6 separate regions of the Homo sapiens genome follow, and all the other regions are linked to region 1. Evidence: promoter capture Hi-C in 16 types of primary human blood cells and fetal thymus (Javierre and others, 2016). All regions are on one chromosome and are shown on one strand. Each heading gives the region's core, a stretch centred on a gene start or on the middle of the fragment in contact. The rest is flanking DNA. Distances are from core to core; before and after follow the strand shown. Region 1 holds the start of LRPPRC (leucine rich pentatricopeptide repeat containing). Region 2 has its middle 4.9 kb from the start of PRKCE. Region 3 holds the start of COX7A2L (cytochrome c oxidase subunit 7A2 like). Region 4 holds the start of SRBD1 (S1 RNA binding domain 1). Region 5 overlaps SRBD1 (S1 RNA binding domain 1). Region 6 has its middle 4.2 kb from the start of TRI-TAT2-1.

Region 1 (3,289 bases), core at 575-3,074:
CTGCAGTGAGCCAAGATCGTGCCATTGCTCTCCAGCCTGGGTGACAGAGCAAGACCCTGTCTTGAGAAAAAAAAAAAAAAAGCAACTCCCCCCATGACACCCTCAATCCCTTTACCCTGGCGTATTTTGCATCACAGTTCTTTTTGTCTTCCCAAATTAAACTTTAAAGAGCTTAATTAGAATCTAGGGTTGGTTTGTTTTGTTCTCTGCTGTATTCCTAGGATTTCAAATAGTGTATGGCACTGGATATGTATTCAATAAATACGTGTTGAATAGGTGAATAACTTGTATTCCCAGTGCTCAGTAATATAACCCAGAGTCAATCAATTCACCTTGTTTCTTTTGGGGGCTTGGAGCGGGTGTCTTCGTTCCCTCATCTCTCAAAGGAGAGGTGAGCTAGGTCATCTCAAAATAGACATTAATTTAACACATATTTAATGAGACCTACTGTGTGTCTGGCACTGGGTAGGTGTATGGCCTACAATAAGAGATCACAGTCCCTACTGATAAGGAGTTCGTGGGATTAACTGATAAGGAGTCCAGTGGGATAAACAGTCACTTCGGAAATGACCGTGGGAGGGCTTCCAGAGGAAATACCCGCCGCGTTTGCCTCGTGATAGGTAGGGGACAGGCAGGTGTAGAGGGAGTGGAAGGCTGTTCTCAGCTTCCCACGTGTGCACAGGGAACCGATCCAGTCTGTAAGCCCTGTGAAGGCAGCGACGTGGTTTTTTTGTTTTGTTTTAGACAGAGTCTCGCTGTGTCACCCAGGCTGGAGTGCAATGGCGCCATCTTGGCTCACTGCAACCTCCACCTCTCGGGTTCAAGCAATTCTCCTGCCTCAGCCTCCCGAGTAGCTGAGATTACAGGCGCCCGCCACCACGCCCGGCTAATTTTTTGTATTTTTAGTACAGATGGGGTTTCACCATGTTGGCCAGGCTGGTCTCCAACTCCTGACCTCAGGTGATCCACCCGCCTCGGCCTTCCAAAGTGATGGGATTACAGGCGTGAGCCACTTCGCCAGCGATGGGTTTAACTTGCCAGTTTTCTCCCCATATTTGGCTGGAGACTCTTAATTACATTGTTCTTTTACTTCTCACATGTATATGTGCATTTACTGAAGGGAGAGGCGCGGTAGGGGTGGAGGGTTGGGGAAGAGAGTCAGTTCAATTCCAGCTTTAAAACTATAGGATTTTTGGTAGAATTCATTTATTTTCTAAAGCGAGGCCCCGCGTACGCGCTTAGGGTGGGGACCTGCGCGTTCCTTTACACTGTTCCCAGGCCCTGATAATCCACATCCTATCATGTTGAACCTGGGAGGCAAACGGCAAGGTGCAAAAGACCTCCACGGTTTCTCCGGCCCGCGTTTCTGAGAGTGAAGGGCCGTTCCTATTGGACATGGCGTCAGGGCTGAACGTTAGCAGCAACATCTGCACTCGGGGGCGGGGGAAACCTTCCCACGTCCTGGGATCTTCATAGTCGGCTCTCCTCGAGAGTTCTCGGTATTTTTACTAGTTGGCCTCCCACAAGCCTCTGCGCCAACCTGGGAGGAGTTGACCTCTTGCGGCTCTACCAACAGAGGAGTGCAGGGGTGCAGCGAATGAACACGATGCCCAGATCGGAGACGGAAGACGGAAAAGAAAAGCTTCGATAATGAATCAAGCAACATCGTTTATGTAAATATTACATTGGGTCTTCTGTCCTCGGAGAAGTGCGGTTTTCCATCTTCCAACCTAAAACAATCCGTCGCTCCCCCCACATTTGGCACGCCCGGCAGTTGGTCTCTGCCGCGCCAGGCTACCCTGCGGTCACATGCTCCTCCTGTCCTTCTGGCGGAGCGTGCTTCCCGCTGCGGGGACGTTCGAGCAATGGCAGCCCTGCTGAGATCCGCGCGTTGGTTGCTGCGTGCCGGGGCGGCCCCGCGCCTCCCGCTCTCCCTGCGCCTCCTCCCTGGCGGCCCGGGCCGGCTGCATGCCGCCTCCTATCTGCCCGCCGCTCGCGCCGGGCCCGTGGCCGGGTGAGTGCCCAGGCCCTTTCTCCAGGCAAGCTGCGGCGCCAGGGTCCCCCGGGGTCGTGGGTGCCGGCAGGGACCGGGTCCTGCCTGTGCTCGCCACCCTTCTCCCCGCCCCAGGACCTAGCCTCCCCGGGCTCCGCACCACGCTCCCTACCAGGGGTTTTCGGGTGACAGGGTTAAGCGCCTTCAGAAGGTCACGGCTGTGGGCATGGCCTGCCTCCGGCTTGAATCCTGCCCCCGCCACTTCAGCCTGGACCTTACTGCCCTCGGGGTACCCATGGTCAACGAAGATGAGGGGGGCTTTGAAGACTGCTTTGGGAAGTCGGGTGGTGGTCTTTTCCTTACACTTGGCCAGCTTGGGTGGTGTCCCACGTGCGGTCACCGTTGGTGATCAGTAACCACCTAGCATTTAGATATTGGAAATTTAGCTTTTTGCGAGGGATGGGGCGGCGAGGAGTGGGTTGGGAGTTTGGGTGAGCCACGGATGACTTAAAGCTGGACGCTGGATTATGATCACTTTGGGCTTTTGCCTGCGTTCTCTTGAATGGAGTTTTCCTTCAGCATTTAAGAAGGTGTTGCGCGAGTTGGGCTGGAGTGCAGTGGCGCGATCTCAGCTCACTGCAACTTCCGCTTCCCGGGTTCAAGCGATTCTCCTGCCTCAGCCTCCCGAGTAGCTGGGATTACAGGTGTGCGCCACCATGCCAGGCTAACTTTTGTACTTTTAGTAGAGACTGGGTTTCACCATGTTGGCCACGCTAGTCTCGAACTCCTGACTTCAAGCGATCCTCCTGCCTCGGCCTCCCAAAGTGCTGGGATTACAGGTGTGAGCCACCGCTCCCGTCCTGTAAGTGTCTTTGAATGAATGAGCACATGCAAGGCACTCTGTTGGAATCTGGGGATGCAAAGGCAAGTTAAACTCTAAGTGGGTGTCAGATAGGCGAATAAATGCTCTCATGGTTTGAGGTTTATCAGAGATAGGTTTGGTATAGACTTTTGTAGTGGAGGGGAAAAGAAAAGTTGGTGAAAGTGTTCATTTGGTTATTAATAGTATTCTGACCACCAGAGAAGGGGAGATAGGTGCTGAGCTTTTAGCATTGGAGAAAAAATGATTTTGAAAGACTGATGCTTGTAAATTAAGGTACTTTGAGAGCTCGCGTAAGGACTGAGAGCCAGGGATCTGCAGTAGGCTGGGCCCAGACTGCAGCCTACTCCAGATTTATCTGCATTTTATCCTCAAATTATCTGCATTATGCCATTAGAGAAGTTACTTAACATCTC
Region 2 (3,289 bases), core at 286-2,785, 1.7 Mb before region 1:
GTAAAATGACCTTTGGATTCCAACTATGGCCTAGTTATTTCATAATCTTTGTGAGAAGGAAGAAAATGATACAATAATTTAACAAAGATGACCAAAATGGAGCCTTTCTCCTTTCAAAATTAAGGCTTATGAGAAAAGAATAGAACAACAGATGTGGCCAGGACAGGGCGATCAGTGTTGCAATAGGTCTATGGATGGGAGTGGCACAGAAGAAGGATCACCCCTTTGCCTGGGGAGCCTGGGAAGGCATCAACCAGCAGAATCCTTTGAGCTGAGTCTAGGCTTTCCAACAGGAGTTCTTCCAGCAGCAAAGAGGGAAGGGAAGGGTACTGGCTGCAAAAAGTATAATGTGTACAGGTAGGAAAGCCATGACTCTTCAGGTAAGCGGCCAGGTGTGCCCCACTTGTGGCAGGTAGTAACAGGAGATGAAGTAAGTAGGAACCTGATAGTTAAGACCTCAGAGGGCCTGCAGATGGGTCTCAACTTTTTCCTGGAGAGACACCAAACATTCCAGCGGGCAAGCAGCATAACTAGAGTTAATACTTTACAAAGGCGATTTTGTGATGGATAAATATTTTTCTCTTCTGTAATTTTCCTCCAGAAGGCTCACCTCAAAACAGGGTATTAGACAAAGAGAAGATCCAAGTCTGAAGATGATTTACACTCTGTATAATCAAAATTGAAACTGTCTGTGGATACTGTTTAGATCAGCTGGAGGAAGCGGGGAAGGGGGAGCCAGAACCGTAGACTAGCGCGTTAATATTCATGTCCCTGTTGCTGTGCTGGTTGTTGCCATTTATAGAATGTTAATGGGCTTCTGCAAAGGTCTGCCTGGTCAGGGTCTATCATACATTCCACACATGCTCCGCTGAACAGAATCCAACCACCTGGGCCATGGGATGGAACGCGCAGCAGTATAATGACACAGAAACCTTCTAGAGCTCCGCTGGTCCTGCCCCAGCCTAGCCCCCACCCGACCCTGAGCCCCACTTCAAACTTTGCCCCACACCTATACTCCTGTGGTGGGCTTTTGTCTGCCCTGCCATGTCTTCTTATTTTGGCCCCATCTCAGCTCCGAATTCTGGCCCCATCTCTGCTCTATATTCTGTTGCAGTGACTCAGGCCAAGCTTCACTTAATACCTGCAAAGAGGTGGAGGGATCAGAGGCAGCCCTATCGAGCTTGCTGATGGATGCAGAAGGAGATGGCCTGGTGCCCCTATTCCTCAGGGCCTGTGACTGTGAGCCCTACTCACTAGGATGCCATTTGGAGAATAGCATAACATTCTTCATCTTCTGTGGGTCAGATGTTGGGTTGTGTCTTGGGATTTTTTTTTTATAAGGGACAGAGTCTCACTCTGTTGACCAGGCTGGAGTACAGTGACACAATCACAGTTCACTGCAGCCTTGGCCTCCCAGACTTGAGCAATTCTCCCACCTCAGCCTCCTGAGTGGCTGGGACTAAAGCCATGTGCCACCATGCCCAGCTAAAGTTTTTTGATTGTTTTTGTAGAGATGGGGTCTCACTATGTTGCTCAAGCTGGTCTTGAACTCCTGGACTCTAGTGGTCCTCCTGCATCAGCCTCCCAAAGTGCTGGGATTACAAGTGTGAGCCACCGTGCCTGGCCCCTGTCTTGGACTTTTAAGATCATATGTCAATCCAAGGGTCTTTACTAAGTACTTGCTATATATAGGATACTAGGGCAGGTGCTCCAGGGAGGATAAATAGCTATATGGATAATCCCTACTCTACCTGGGGAGATGAGTAGATCAATTCAGTCGGTCCTTTATTTAACAGTCAGTAGTGTCATGTCATGTCATTTGGAGCACTAGGGAAACAAAAAATGACAACACAAAATGGCCCTTTATTAGTCAGGATTGGCTAGGTCATGCTGCTGTAATAAGCTCTCCCCAGATCCCAACACCTTAAAAGAACAAAGCTTTCTTCTCATGCATGCTGTAAGTCTATGGCAGGTTGGTTGGGAGCTCTGCTTCCCATTAGCGTCATTCTCACTTCTGGATCCAGGCTGGCTAAAAAGTTACCATCTGGAACATGGCTGGTCATGGGCAGAGAGAAAAAGGATGTCTGGAGGGTCTTACACAGGCAATTAAATAGTCCACCTGGTGGCTCATGCCTGTAATCCCAGCATTTTGGGAGGCCCTGGGTAGCAAAACCTCATCTCTACAAAATAAAATAAAATTAAATTAAATTAAAAAAACATAGCTGAGCATGGTGACGGGTGCCTGTAATCCCTGCTACCTGGGAGGCTGAGGTGGGAGAATTGCTTGAGGAGGCTGCAGTGAGCCAAGATTGTGACACTGCACTTCAGCCTAGGCAACAGAGCCAGACCCTGTCCCCCACCTGCCCCCCACCCAAAAAAATCCATCTGGAAGTGCTAAATATCATTTGTGCCCACTAATTGTTAGCTAGAACCAGTCTCAGATCCCGCCTTCCCCAACCACAGGGTCTGGGAAGTTCTACCATCTGTACTGTCAAGGAGCATGGAATGTTTGGTGAATAGCACTGAAGACTGCCATAGACACTATTCTCAAATGACAGGTGCAGAAAGGTAATTCAAGGTGGCACACAATAAATAACAAATAATCAGCCCACTCAGAAAGCACTATAGGAACTTAGGGTAGCAATAATCACAGTAAGAGTCAGACTGTTTGACCGTCCTCCCTCCCTTTTGCTCTGGGCCACTGCATACAGAAGACTCCAGATGACATGGAGAATCCTGCCTAATATCAGAACCAGCAGCCATCCAAGCTCCTTTCCCCTCCCCGTTATATGCTTAACACCTCATGGGACGTGCAGTTCCTTAAAGCCACTTTAGAACCACGGCAGCACAAAGGAGGCATTTGGGCCCAACAGAACTGAGAAGACTTACTTGTTAAACTCTGTGGGATTTGAGGGATCACTTGGTTTGTTTAATTAATTAATTAAGTTTTTGAAATGGAGTCTTGCTTTGTCACCCAGGCTGCAGTGCGGTGGCACACAATCTCGTCTCACTGCTGCAACCTCAACCTCCCAGATTCAAGCAATTCTCCTGCCTCAGCCTCCTAAGTAACTGAGATTATAGGCACACACCACCATGCCCAGCTAATTTTTGTATTTTTTTTTAGTACAGACAGGGTTTCACCATATTGGCCAGGCTGGTCTCAAACTCCTGACCTCAAGTGATCCACCTGTCTCAGCCTCCCAAAGTGCTGGGATTACAGGCATGAGACACTGCGCCCAGACTATATTCTTTATTGTTATTAAATTCCTCTATTAAATGAGGAAACTGA
Region 3 (3,289 bases), core at 12-2,511, 1.6 Mb after region 1:
GTCAATTTTTTAAAAGTCAGCTTGGAAAAAATGAGAGAATTTAAAAAATTAACAACTATTTCACAGTTGGTTCCTATCTCTACTCAGTATTACCCAATTTAAATTTTATGTTGGTTTTCCATCCATTCCCCAGGCGCTTTCACAGAGCGGCCTGCCAGAGGCCATTAGCACACACCCCTCACAAATGGAGAAGCAGCGGCATTCAGATTCACCAGGAGCTGGACTGGCATTTGCACTCACTCAGTTCACCTGGTGATTGGCAAGCTTCTCTACTCTGAGTCGTGGTCACTTCCCTTCAGAATAGAATGTGGGGAACAACCTGAAGGGATCGTGATAAAAAAAGATTGTCTTTGATGTTGGATGGGATATGCAAATACGAATGAGAATAGGGTGCCTTAGTACTGTCAGAGTGTGCTGTGTTTTATTTGGGAAATGAGACAAAATCTTCCCATGATCAGCCATTCCATGTGACATCCCAACCCACACTCTGCTACTGACATTTTATCTCCCACTGAACAGCCTGGCTGTTGTAACATTTTCAGGATTCTTAATTTATGTCTTGCAGGATCTAAAATCAGATGGCAGGAACTTTAAGAAAATAACCAGTGTTGACAGGCACCTTATAAAAGAAGCTGGTACACCTTAGTGCTGCTAAAAGTTAGAGAATATTCTTTCGTTTCTTCTTCCAAAATATGTCCAGAAGTCAGTGGGATGGAGACAGTAGCTGTCCCAAATCATTTAATTTCTCTTTTCAATCTAAACTCTATGAAAGGCTTTTTCTTTCACTCAATATTTGCTAGCGCCTGGGACTCAAGAAGGCTAATGTCAATGGATCATTTTCTTTTGAGGTAGTCGAACTTTTTGTCGTAGAAAAATCTTCCTGAATCTATTCAGTATCAAAACATGGGGTGGGCCTGGCACGGTGGCTCATGCCTGTAATCCCAGCATTTTGGGAGTCTTGAGTTTGGCAGATCACTTGAGCCCAGGAGTTTGAGACTAGCCTGGGAAACATGGTGAAACCCCATCTCTACTAAAAATACAAAAAATTAGCCAGGCGTGGTGGCGCGCATCTGTGGTTCCAGCTACCCGGGAGACTGAGGTAGGAGAATCACCTCAGCCTGGGAAGTCAAGGCTGCAATGAGCCGAGATCACACCACTGTACTCCAGCCTGGGACAGAGTGAGACCCTGTTTCAAAAAGAATTTAAAAAAAAAAAAAAAAAAAAGGAAATCACTAGTCCCAAACCACTTATCCTTGGAGAAATATGGACATAAACCCAAATTGCATGTTCTTTCCATTATATCACAGTGTCTCTTTGTAAAAGTGGCAACTTTGGGCTGGCTTACATGAATTCGCTGAAACCTTTACAACATATTGGCGGTGCTGAATACTTGGGGCTCTTGAACGTAAGCCTGCAACCAGGATGCTGGTGTACACCCTCACCCTGGAATGCTCAGCCTTGATCCTCCTCTTTTCAGAATGGCTTCATATCTATTTATTTGTAACATAGTGCTTAACAGTAGGAAGTCTTGAGCCAAATGCCTAGCTCTGCCACTTATCCCTGACCTGAGCAAGTTACTTAGCTTCTCCAGGCGTCATTTTCCTGTATTCTAAAATGGAGATGATAATAGCATTTACCTTATAGGATTGTTGTGAAGATTAAATGAGTTTAGGGCAATGCTATATATAGGTTAGTATCATCCATCAATTTGCAACATGATTTCATAAGTGCATCTAGAATATGCTTGTGTAAACCTATGGTTAGATGATGAAGCTAAGAAAAGCCTGAGTCCATCCCTGGAGAGTAAGAAACTAGTATACTCCTTTTACACAGTACCTTGCACACAGCACAGGCTTAACAGACATATTTAAATTGAACTGAAGCGAATACTACCAGAACTGAAAGTGGTAGTTCCAGATCTTTCAGGCTCAAGGTCCAGATTTTACAAGTGTTTCTGATCACCCTCCCCCTACCTCATTTATCGCAAAGAGCAGAGGCCAGGAAAAGGATGAATAATCAATGACCTTAAAACTCAGGTGAGAATAAAAACCAGTTCTGAGAAACCGTGTGACATTTACATCCTGGTACCTGAGCTTTAGATCACTCTGCATGTGTATTTCCTCTGCACAAAGCCCAGGAGGCTACTTTTATATTATTGGGGCAAATCTCCCAACAGCCCTGGGTACTAAACAGCCTTCAGCAGGTGCTTCCAAATTTTCTTATTTGCTTCAACTCCCAGGTTGCCAGGGGAAGCTTGGCCGACAAGTCTATACTCCTGGGCAGACTGAGCAACAGCAGGTGGTGGCTTCTGGATAAGAGGTGCTCTAGGTCGGAAGGAAATAAATGAGACTACGATCAGTTAAAGTTCGGTAAAGCAAGAGACGCCTTCAACCCGACGACCAGACGGTGGCTCCGCAGCACAGACTCTCTCGGATGGTGGAATTCCCAACCGGCTTCGATGTAGCCCCGCCCCTACCCAGACCACGCCCACCAATCACCGCCCTCTCCCCCCCAGGCCCCGCCTGGAGCCCGCCCCTCCTAAAGCATGCTCCACCTGACTCCGACACTGCCGGGCTTAGTCCGCCGGGCTTAGTCCGTGGAGCGCTTGCGCATTTCTTGAGTTGTCGTGGCACTGCCCAAATCTGAATGGGGGAAAGAGGGAACTTCATATTTCCTACAGACTCCGCCACAGCGACTTTGCGTGCTCTCTTAGAGCTGGTTTTGCCTTTCGTGGTCCTGAGAACCCTGGCTTTTGGTTCCCCAATGCGGCTTAAGTGTGCAGGTTTTAAGTTAGGCGATCTTCGGGCAGCCCTAGTCCCAGCACCGGGTCCTTGCGCTGAGTCTCGGGACCACAGCCGGGGAGGCGGGGTCCTTCTCTGGGGCGGTCGCGTTGGCAGCGGATGCGGGAAGCCGGACTCTGGGCGTCATGTACTACAAGTTTAGTGGCTTCACGCAGAAGTTGGCAGGAGCATGGGCTTCGGAGGCCTATAGCCCGCAGGTACGAGTGGCGCCTGGCCAGCTCGGACATGAGAAGTGGCGGCCCTAGCCTCGGCGACAGGCAGTCGCGGCGTTGGAGCCAGGGGAGGCTTCTGCCCGCGGTCGAGTTCGTCTCTGTTCTCCTTGCACCTCCCGGGGCCTCTCCACACCAGCGTACGGTGGTCACTGAGGCTTCTTTTTGTGTACCTGCTCACCTGGCGGGGGCTGGCCTGGCGTGGAAGTTTGGTCTGGCTCACTGCAGGGGTCAAGGTGACCCCCGGGGTCACTTGTCTAAAAGGGATGGTTTGTGGGG
Region 4 (3,289 bases), core at 273-2,772, 1.6 Mb before region 1:
TTAGAGAACCTGCTTCAGATTTTATTTTCCCCAGATGTCTGATGTCTAAAATCTTAACAGGCTATTTATTTTTGTGATTTTTTTTTTCTTCCCCAGCTGTAAGGCAAAAATCCCTTGTGGGGAGAGGAAAGTCAAGCTTCAATGCTTTGCTGGCCCACTCTTACTCTCCTCCTCACTGTAGTGTGGCTACTACCTGCATACCCAACCCTTGAAGCTAGACTGTTTTGCTTGGGTGTCTGTTTCCTCTGGCTGTATCTGGTTCCTACTCTTGGTCGTAAATTCCTCCAGGGCAGGACTTATGTCAAAAGACTTTGCAGTATATTAGTTCACCTTTACCCTTACTACCTCTGCAATGATTGGAATGTCCCCTTCAAAAATTCAAGTTGAAACTTGTCATTGTAATAGTATGAAGAGGTGGGACCTTTAGGAAATGATTAGGTCATGAATGAGTTAATTCCATTATCACAGGAGGGTTAGTTATTTCGGGAGTCAATTGGGTTCACATGCCTCCCCCACCCCTACCCCAGTATGATGCCCTCCATCATATTTTGACACAACAATAATGCCCTCTGTCTTGGACTTCCCAGCCTTCAGAACTACAAGCCAAACAAATCTCTTTCTTTATAAATCTACCAGTCTATGGTATTTGGTTACAGCAGCAGAAAATTGACCAAGACAACCCCTTACCATAAACCTGAGTAGCAAATGCAACATCAAAAGTAGGTGAATAGTAAGTAGTACATTATTGTTGTTGATTTCTATGATCTGGTTTCTCTTCCCACAATCCTGAACGGTAAGGTGTTCTCTAGTATTTCTTCAGGACCATAAATTGTGAAGGAGACTGTGATTGTAGTAGACAATTCTAGGCCTTCTGGAACCATCACTAAAGGCAACATACGACTGTGCTAATTAAAAGGAAAAAAAAATCCCTAAACAATCTCGGAAACTGATCTTTCCTGGCCAACAATCTCAGATATAGAAGATTAGATTTACTAAATTTAGAAAGAATCCTTTTTTTTTTCCCCCAATCACAAAAATTATCCAGTAAAATCTATGCTCACTTCCGGTAGATCTGCAACAAGGCACGGTCACAGGTCATTTCAATAACTTGCTAGGCTCTTCAGTACTCAGAGTCCCTGGAAATAAGTCATTAGCAGTGGAAAGCTGCTTTTTAGAATTTTCTAAAACAAATCCATGGGGTTTTGATCTGCTAAATTCGAATGTAGACAACAGCAGCCTTATTTCCCTACTTTTATAATCTAATTTATTTGGCTGTATCTGTGGGCTTAAGAGTTTAGTGTTCTTGGTAAATAACACGTAAAAAAAAAGTCATTTTTCATTTCTACGAACCAGCCCCACCCCGGCGCTCCCTCGGGATCCTCGCTCTAGCCCCGCCTCCGTCCAGCCTGGCTCCGCCCCGTTCGGTAGCGCCGCGCCTTGGAGGTCTGTGGCTAACTTGGTCCGGAAGAAGCGAGGCGGACCTTCTGGCGTTTGAAAAACTTCCGGCGGGAACCGGAAGGTGCGGTGGCACTCACGGAATCTCGGGTCTTCTGACGTGCCGGGCGGGAAGGTGAGCTGTGCGTGCGCCTTGGCGGTCGTCTTGCGGGTTCTCAAGAGCCCGGCGTCCGGGCTCCGGGATCTTTGGGGCCATTAAAAAAGTTCTGAGCGCTCATTTGGGCAATAACACCCCTTTTTTAAAAGTGAGAAGTTCATTACATTTTACTGTCAGCGGTCTCTCACAACCGACCACCCGAAAACCCCTCCTAGCTACCTCGTGACACCTCTTTTCAGCCAAATTGCTGCAGCTCTTAGCGCATAACAGACATAGAAAAGCCTGGGCAAGCCTGTTTTTTTTTTTTTTGAGACGGAGTCTCCCTCTGTCGCCCAGGCTGGAGTGTAGTGGAGCGATCTCGGCTCACTGCAAGCTCCGCCTCCCGGATTCACGCCATTCGCCTGCCTCAGCCTCCCGAGTAGCTGGGGCTACAGGCGCCCGTCATCACACCCGGCTAATTTACCTGGATTGTTTTTATACCTAAAATTATCGGAGGTGGGAGAGGAAGCACCCTTTTCACGGTCATGGTGGCCCTGTCTGAATCAACTGCACCTTCTGTAGTGCGCCTGGCATGTAGGAGGCGCTCAGTAACCGGAGGAAAGGAATGAATTGGGAACTCTCTAGGCAACTTTCCTCGAACCCCTCACGTGACATGTCATTAACATATTGTGTGTGGAATGGGAAACGAGACTAGTCTTGGTGTTCCAGGCACTGGGCTATAGTCCTTTGCCACATATCTTTCCCCTTTGAGTAAACTGTTTCACCTCATTGGGTCTCAGATTTCTGAATATAGCGGGACTGTCTGATCTCAGGTTCTTTCAGCTCTAGTATTTTGTTTTTGTGACTTGGGAATCTGCTAACATTCAAGCACTCTGTTGGTCCTTCATGGAAACTTGTTTAGGTGCTTCTTAAGAAATTGTCCTCCTTTGTTTGCCTTCTTGAATTTAAATTTTTTTTTCCAATTTTAATTTAGTATTTGTTAGTGTGCACGTCCTTTTGCCCCTTTGTCCTGATTTGCAGTCGTCCTAGTTTAGTGGCTCTTCCCTTAGTAACATCATAGCAACCTCCAAATTATTGGTTTGGAATATGCTCATGTGCCTACAGTGATTAAGATAGTTTGAAAGGAGGGAAAAATCCCAAGTCACTGAAGAATAGGAATATTCTTATGTGCCATCACTTCTTCAGAAAGAGATGAATGCAATGTGTGGCATTGCCTAAGAGTGGTGGAAAATAAATGTATATTCCTCTGTAGAGACCATATTTGTACATATTATGTTCATTTAATAGTTGTAGGGCATCTGTTAAGTGCTAGGTTCTATGATATGGAAGTGAATAAGGCACATGCATTTCCTTCTTTCATGGTATTTACTCTCTTGACAGCAGTGCAAGCAATAAACAAGTAAAATAAAAATAATTACAGATTGTGTTATAACCTACTGTATACAGGAAGTAAATAGGCTCCTTTTAAAATATAATTGAGAAACCTATTTTAGGCCTGAAATGTTAAGATCTAAGGGATGCAAGGAGCCAGCCAATTGACAAGCAGGGGGAAGAATACTCCAGGCAGAGAGTACCTGAGGTGGGAAAGAATGTTATGACAAGAGCTGAGGAGCTCCAGCAAGTAGTAAAGGTGGTTAGAAAGGTGAGCAGGGCTCAGTCCGACAGGGCCTTTTCAAAGGCCTCATAAAAATGTGGCTTGATTCTAAGTGAAGGATGGGGTGGGAAGTAATTCGTTGT
Region 5 (3,289 bases), core at 328-2,827, 1.6 Mb before region 1:
CAGTGAAATTTTACATACGTAGTTATTATAGTCTACTGATACAGGTATAACATAATGAAAAGTAATTTTTAATAGTACCAGTGACTAAGTATACTAACATTCCTTTTGCAGAAGTAGTTTTTCTGTCTTATTTTGTCCACCTTTTATGTTGATTTAATTTTATTGCAACTTTGGAAAAACATTAATGCTTTTATTCTGTTAAAACCTAGCCTTCTAATTTCTGCTTGAAAATATTTTATTGGGCTCTGCATTTTAACTAGTGTGTGTAGCAAATGTGGCATTCTGAGTTAGTGACTGAATTTAAGATTATGATTGACACAGGCTTCTGGGTGTGACAGTATTCAGGCCTGGGAAAGCAGAGCATTTTGGAAATGTCAGTTTTGAAAAACAGCACTGCTGTTTTACGAACTTTTTAGTTTATCATGTACAGGCCGGAGTGATGATATGCTAGGTTACAAAAACAGCTTCCCAATTCCTATAGTGCTGAGACCTCATGTCCTAAATCTGAACCTTACTTTTCAGCCTTTATGTAGATAACCCCAGCACAGTATCACAGAACACAGAAATGAATGCAAATGATGAAAGACAGTGTGGTGAAGGAAAATTACTGTGGAACTCTCTCCAAGTACTGTGGGAATAGCCGTTAATAGCTGCTTAGTAAATTCTTCCAGCTGCATCTTTTTTTCTTTCTTTTTCAAATTGGTCCTTAGTGTGATCTTTTCTACCACATGAATTTGTAACTCAGTCTTCACATTCTCTCATGGGACTTTCTGTTCCTTATCTTTATTGGTGTGTCTTTTTACTGACGTGCAATTTCCTGTGTCTTAACTACCTATTTCCTGTTCAATGTCACCATCTGCAGTAATTCCGCTTTAACCCACTACTCACTTTCAATTTCAGTTTCTGTCCCAAGCTTTATTATTTCTGTTACCTTATTCCCTTCTCCACCATGGGTCTTCCTGTGTGTCAGGATTTTTTGTAAGTTTGACGTATTACATTACTAGGTATGGTGAAAAAGAGCAAAAAACCTCCAATAATGTATTGTGATATTATGGTATACTTATGTAAATCGGAATTAAATAACTCTCCTCTATATTGTTGTACTCTACTTAATTTATTAGAGAAAATTTCTTGTATGAAGAACTTCTGTTTACTAAGCTGGCACAGCCTATAGCAAATACGGAAGTCTCTGCTGAGCTCAAACTGAAGTTTATTTTGTATTCACAATTTATTTCTTTATAGATAGTTCTGTGCAGTATTATTGAATATATTGTTTTATGTAAGCTTACTTTTTTTTTTTTTTCTTAGACAGTATCTTGCTCTTTCACCCAGGCTGGAGTGCAGTGGCAGAATCCCACCTCACTGCAAGTTTCGCCTTGCGGGCTGAAGGCATTCTCCCACTTCAGCCTCCTGAGGAGCTGGGACTATGGGCATGCACAAGCACACCTGGCTGATTTTTGTATTTTTTGAGAGTTGGGGTTTCGCCATGTTGCCCAGGCTCATCTTGAACTCCTGAGCTCAACCAGTCCTCCTGCTTTGGCCTCTCAAAGTGCTGGGATTATGAGCATGAGCCCCCATACCCAGCCGAAACATTTATTTCTAAGTGATTGTTCTATTTCTGCTGATGTTTACTTTAGAAATTTCTCAAGTATATAAGAAAAGAAAAAAGTCCCCTATATAATTTTTTTAAAACTCTGACAATTTGTTTGATATTTAAAATTTTACTCAATATTTTTAAAATTTAAATTAAAGTTACAAAAAAATACGCGTTTTATCTTTTGACATTCTTTTCAACATGAAGCACAAATTGAGAAATTTTCGTGGTAGAATTATTTTGTGGTAATATTAAGTTGAATTATTCTAAGCTTGTTTCACCACAGATAGGAAGTCTAAGTTTTTGTTAGAGATCCTCATGGAAATGTGCTAAAATTGTTAAAATATCAGTTTGTGTCCTGTAAAGGGAGAACTTAGTTTATTAAAATCCCATTCATTAAGAGTAATTGGAAGAAAGCCATTAAGAATTAGTGAGAAATCTGAATATATGTTGAAGTGATGTTGTTTAATTTTTAATATATAATATACATAAATATATAGTTACAGACTAGCAGATATTTAAGGGAGGCTGTTAACTTGATTAAATTATTTGGTTAATTTGTGTTACTATTTATCATCTTAATAATTGGTATTAAAGAGTGCTTTAAGAAAAGAGTGTTTTAATTTTCTAATAGGTTTATTGAAGTAAAATTCATATTGCATTTAATGCAACCATTAGAACTTTGTAAGTTCAATGGTTTTTCGTAAATTCACTCAGTTGTGTCACCATTACCACAAGCAATTTTAGGACATTTTTCTCCCAAATATTTCCTTGCATCAAGCTCTAGGCAGCCAACTTTCTATCTCTATAGATTTGTCTGTTCTGGTCATTTCATATAAAGGAATCATACAATATGCAGACTTTTGCCGCTGGTTTCTTTCACTTAGCATAATGGTTTCAGAGTTTGTCTGTTATGGTATGTATTAGTATGCCTTTCCTTTTTATTGCTACGTAATATTACATTATATGGATTCTCCACATTTTACTTATCCATTCATCAGTCAGTGAATAGTTTGGTTGTTTCTACTTTTTGGATATTATGAATAATGCTATGAACATTCGTGTCTAAGTTTTTGTGTGGACATATGTTTTTATTTCTCTTGGATATATACCTAGGAGTATAATTGCTGTGTTATATGGTAGCTTTACATTTAACCTTTTGAGGAACTGCCATATTTTCCAGAGTGGCTATGCCATTTTTACATTCTCACCAGCGGTTTGTGAAGGTTCCGATTTCTCTACATCCCTCCCAACATTTATTGTCCATCTTTTTGTGTTTTGATTTGCATTTCTCTAATGATGCTGAGCATCTATTCATGTACTTATCAGTCATTTGTATATAATTTTTGAACAAATACCTCTTCAGATCTTTTGTACATTTTAAATTGGGTTGTGGCCAGGCGCGATGGCTCACGCCTATAATCCAAGCACTTTGGGAGGTTGAGGCAGGCGGATCGCCTGAGGTCAGGAGTTCGAGACCAGCCTGGCCAACATGGTGAAACCCCATCTCTTAAGAAAATAAATAAATGAATAAATTGGGTTTTGTCTCCTTATTGTTGAGCTGTAGGAGTTTTAAATATATTCTAGATACCCTTATGTGACATATGATTTGCAAAAATTTTTGTCCCATGCCGTGCATTTTCTTTTCACTTTCTTGATACTATTCTTTGAGGCACAAAAACTAAAATTTGTTGA
Region 6 (3,289 bases), core at 206-2,705, 1.2 Mb after region 1:
CAAAGAGGATATATTAATGTCTAATAAGCATATGAAAAGCTACTCAACATTATTAATGCAATTCATTGTACATAAACTATAACTCAGAAAAGCTTTAAAATTTAAAACTTATTGGTTATCTTTAGAAATTATTAGGGAATCAAAGATTGGTGGAAAAAGAGAAAGAATCAAGAAATTATCCAGTCTTTCTTATGTGAATTGTGCTTCCATAGTCATAAATACAGAAGGAATAATAGAATTAGAAAAGCACCATTGGGGAATCCTCAATAAAAATAATAGATTTAGACCAAGATAATCAACGGCTGCTAAAACATTAGGTTAGAGGCTGGTGAAGGACTTTATAATGGATGGATTCAGCCAACCACGCTGATGAAGGATTAGAGGCTGATGAAGGATTTTATAATGGATGGATTCTGCTGACCATGCTGAAATCATCAATCAAAAGCCATATTTCTAAATGTGGGACAGCCAGACATTATGTACTTTCTTTTGTGGTGCAATAGCACACAGTACCATCTAGAATATATTTTGGGGGAAAAATAATCTGAATATTATAAAGCTTCTAGATATAATTGCCATGAGGGATTGAAGAACATGGGGCTGAAGAAAACCTTGAGCATGCAATTAGCCAAAATCTGTGGGAAATTCTAAAGGTCAACAAAGAAATGTCATAAAAGGGGGTGAAAAGAGAGGAAATTCGAATAGATTAAAAGAGATTTATCCTTTAAATATCTTAAAGGATACACCAATCAAATGCCAAGGACAGCCCATATTTGGATCTTGATTCAAACAAACCAATCTTCTGTAAAAATATTTTTCAGAGATATGGGTAGCAATTTGAAAGCAGATGAGGTATGAGATGAAGCTAAGTAATTATTATTACTCTTGTTGGGTGTAATAATGATACCATGGTTATGCTTTTTTAAAAAAGTGATTACCTGTTGGGTATATATGCTGAAGTTTTGACAGGTTAAATTAAACCATATCTAGGATTTCCTCTAAAATATTCCAGAGGTAAGGGGTGAATGTTGTGGGAAGGATATAGATAAAACAATGTTGACAATTCTTTAAAAGTGGAAACATGGGGGTTAACTATACTGTTCTCTCTACTTTTGTGTATGTTTGAAATTTTCCATAATAAAGAATTGGGCTTTGGTTTCGTTTTGTTGAATTTTAAATGAGCTTGTTTCTACAGATCACAGCCCTCTGGCTGTGTTCTGACCTACTGAGAGTTCAACAGGATTCCCTCCCTTTACCCATATGGAGGCCACACACTCAATATCTGTAGGGTACAAATGACTGAAATGAGCCTGGGATAAAGAAAACAGCAAAGCAAGCCAGTGAATCAAGGCAGCTGGCACCTACCTCTGTGTTGGAGAATAATGGAGAGTGACAGGGACCGTGGCAAACCGAAAGCCACATACACATCCAAGATGGGCAGTCAGTCTTGCCATATAGGAATAAGGGCCCCAGATGGCCCGGCTTTTTTTTTTTTAGACAAGGTCTCACTCTGTCTCCCAGGCTGGAATACAGTGGTGTGATCTTGGCTCACTGCAACCTCCGCCTCTCAGGTTCAAGAGATTCTCCTGCCTCAGCCCCCCGAGTAGCTGGGACTACAGGCATGGCGAATTTTTGTATTTTTAGTAGAGGTGGGATTTCGCCATGTTGGCCAGGCTGGTCTTGAACTCCTGACCTCAGGTGATCCACCCGCCTCAGCCTCCCAAAGTGCTGGGATTACAGGCGTGAGGCACCACACCCAGTCCTGACTTTTCATTAGAAACTGAAAATCTCGGCATTTCTGTGAAATCTCCCAATATGGAGGCAAATGATTTTTTTTTTTTAATGTCAGCACTTTGCAAGTTAGTGCTGGAAGGCCAAACAAAATCTGTCTGCAGGCTAGATTTGTTCCATAGATGGCTGGTTTGTGATCCCTGACACCACAGCATCTAATGCATTATATAGTAATGCATTAATAATCAGTTGACATTCTTAGCAGTTGGGTCACACTGCTGGCACAACCGAGGTTGCACACATCTGAAATCCCCAGATCTTTTACATGCAAACAGCTGTCAAGCCAGGCATCCTCACACATGGAACTTTGAACTGAACATAGACTTACAATTATCTCTATGAAAATTGCATCTTATCATTTGTCAGAAACATTTGCCTCCAGATTGGCTCCACTCTTCTTCTAAATTCTACTGAATCTGCACTCCTTTCAGGCTGTGTCACCCCTAGCTCTGATGAGCCCTTCTTCATCCAAGCATTCTACAAAGCCAAGGTCAGCCTGGGTTACATCAGGTTTCTCTCCTGCTGGGGCCTGGGGTTGTTCAGTTGTCACTTCAAGCTTCCTTCGCAGTTTGGTCACTTCATACTTACCCACTTCCTTCTTGAAGCCACTACACAGTATAGTCAGGCCTAAGCCAGTGGTCTGATGCTAATAAAAATGTCATAATACTTTGTGGTTTTTAAAGCATTTTCCCATATTCTGACTTGATTTTTTTTTTTTTAATTGAGACAGAGTCACTCAGGCTGGAGTGCAGTGGTGCAATCTCAGCTCACTGCTGCCTCGACCTCTTGGGCTCAGGTGAGCCTCCCACCTCAGCCTCCCAAGTAGCTGAGACTACAGGCGTGCCTCATCACACTGGGTTAATTTTTGTATTTTTTGTAGAGACAGGGTTTCACCATGTTGCCCAGGCTGGTCTGGAACTCCTGGGCTCAAACAATCCTTCTGCCTCAGCCTCCCAAAGTGTTGGAATTACGGTGTGAGCCACCATGCCCTGCCTCACTTGATTTTTATCACCCACCACAACCTTAAAAAATTCTATCAACATCACTTTAAGACACTGGGCCACAAATAGGCTCAGAGTATGTTTGTTGTTTATGGCCTAATCAATAATTTCGTAGCTGAAGATTTCTAAATTAAGGAAAGAAGAACTAGTTTAGCTTCCTTCCAACCCTACCATCTTATCAGGAAAACAGTTCCTAAAGCCACTGCCATTCCAGCAGTAACCAGTAGGGACAGAAACAATATTGAAGAATGTTCTAACCATAAGAGTTGTTGGAAAATGGAATAAGTTGCCTTGAGAGGAACTGAAATTCTGATGCTAGCAGTTTTCAAATAGGAGCTAGGGTTTTGTGGAAAGGATTTCTCTGTGGATAGGAGGTTGACAGAATGATCTCTCATTCATTTATTGTTGTCTGTTTGGGATCTTGCTTTGAGCTCAGCTCTCAGAAGTACCTAAGAGACTCCTGGTGGTCAGTGAGTTACCTGTGAAGATTAGAAACC

The links. Contacts are between HindIII fragments. The CHiCAGO score rates a contact against its expected background, and 5 or more counts as called.
Region 2: a fragment that was not itself captured here is called in contact with the fragment with the promoter of LRPPRC in region 1 in 1 of 17 cell types (total CD8 T cells); the score reaches 5.1 in total CD8 T cells.
Region 3: a contact is called between a fragment that was not itself captured here and the fragment with the promoter of LRPPRC in region 1, in 7 of 17 cell types (monocytes, naive CD4 T cells, non-activated CD4 T cells and 4 more). The highest score is 14.6, in monocytes.
Region 4: a contact is called between the fragment with the promoter of SRBD1 here and the fragment with the promoter of LRPPRC in region 1, in 2 of 17 cell types (naive CD8 T cells and non-activated CD4 T cells). The highest score is 6.2, in naive CD8 T cells.
Region 5: a fragment that was not itself captured here is called in contact with the fragment with the promoter of LRPPRC in region 1 in 7 of 17 cell types (total CD8 T cells, naive CD4 T cells, fetal thymus and 4 more); the score reaches 15.2 in total CD8 T cells.
Region 6: a fragment that was not itself captured here is called in contact with the fragment with the promoter of LRPPRC in region 1 in 1 of 17 cell types (non-activated CD4 T cells); the score reaches 6.2 in non-activated CD4 T cells.

Annotation. Positions count from the first base shown.
Region 1 is chr2:43,994,524-43,997,812 of GRCh38, reverse strand. LRPPRC (leucine rich pentatricopeptide repeat containing) reads left to right here and starts at 1,824. Exons shown (of 38, transcript NM_133259.4): 1 at 1,824-2,014. The coding sequence starts at 1,866. RefSeq lists enhancers at 1,547-1,826, 1,622-2,273 and a silencer at 1,927-2,246. The HindIII fragment of the contact is 4,663 bases long and covers 1,645-3,289 here.
Region 2 is chr2:45,645,095-45,648,383 of GRCh38, reverse strand. No RefSeq gene overlaps it. Among named protein-coding and RNA genes, the nearest start is that of PRKCE, 4.9 kb to the left of the region's middle. The HindIII fragment of the contact is 810 bases long and covers 1,131-1,940 here.
Region 3 is chr2:42,360,799-42,364,087 of GRCh38, reverse strand. It overlaps COX7A2L (cytochrome c oxidase subunit 7A2 like), which reads left to right and starts at 2,871. Exons shown (of 3, transcript NM_004718.4): 1 at 2,871-2,998. The coding sequence starts at 2,927. RefSeq lists enhancers at 2,131-2,220, 2,781-2,840, 2,210-2,953, 2,861-3,180, 2,954-3,289 and a silencer at 2,411-2,580. The HindIII fragment of the contact is 1,989 bases long and covers 267-2,255 here.
Region 4 is chr2:45,609,500-45,612,788 of GRCh38, reverse strand. SRBD1 (S1 RNA binding domain 1) reads left to right here and starts at 1,522. Exons shown (of 21, transcript NM_018079.5): 1 at 1,522-1,570. RefSeq lists an enhancer at 1,702-1,871. The HindIII fragment of the contact is 4,677 bases long and covers 139-3,289 here.
Region 5 is chr2:45,565,625-45,568,913 of GRCh38, reverse strand. All of the region lies in intron 9 of SRBD1 (S1 RNA binding domain 1), which reads left to right. Among named protein-coding and RNA genes, the nearest start is that of SRBD1, 44 kb to the left of the region's middle. The HindIII fragment of the contact is 581 bases long and covers 1,287-1,867 here.
Region 6 is chr2:42,813,052-42,816,340 of GRCh38, reverse strand. No RefSeq gene overlaps it. Among named protein-coding and RNA genes, the nearest start is that of TRI-TAT2-1, 4.2 kb to the right of the region's middle. The HindIII fragment of the contact is 1,788 bases long and covers 562-2,349 here.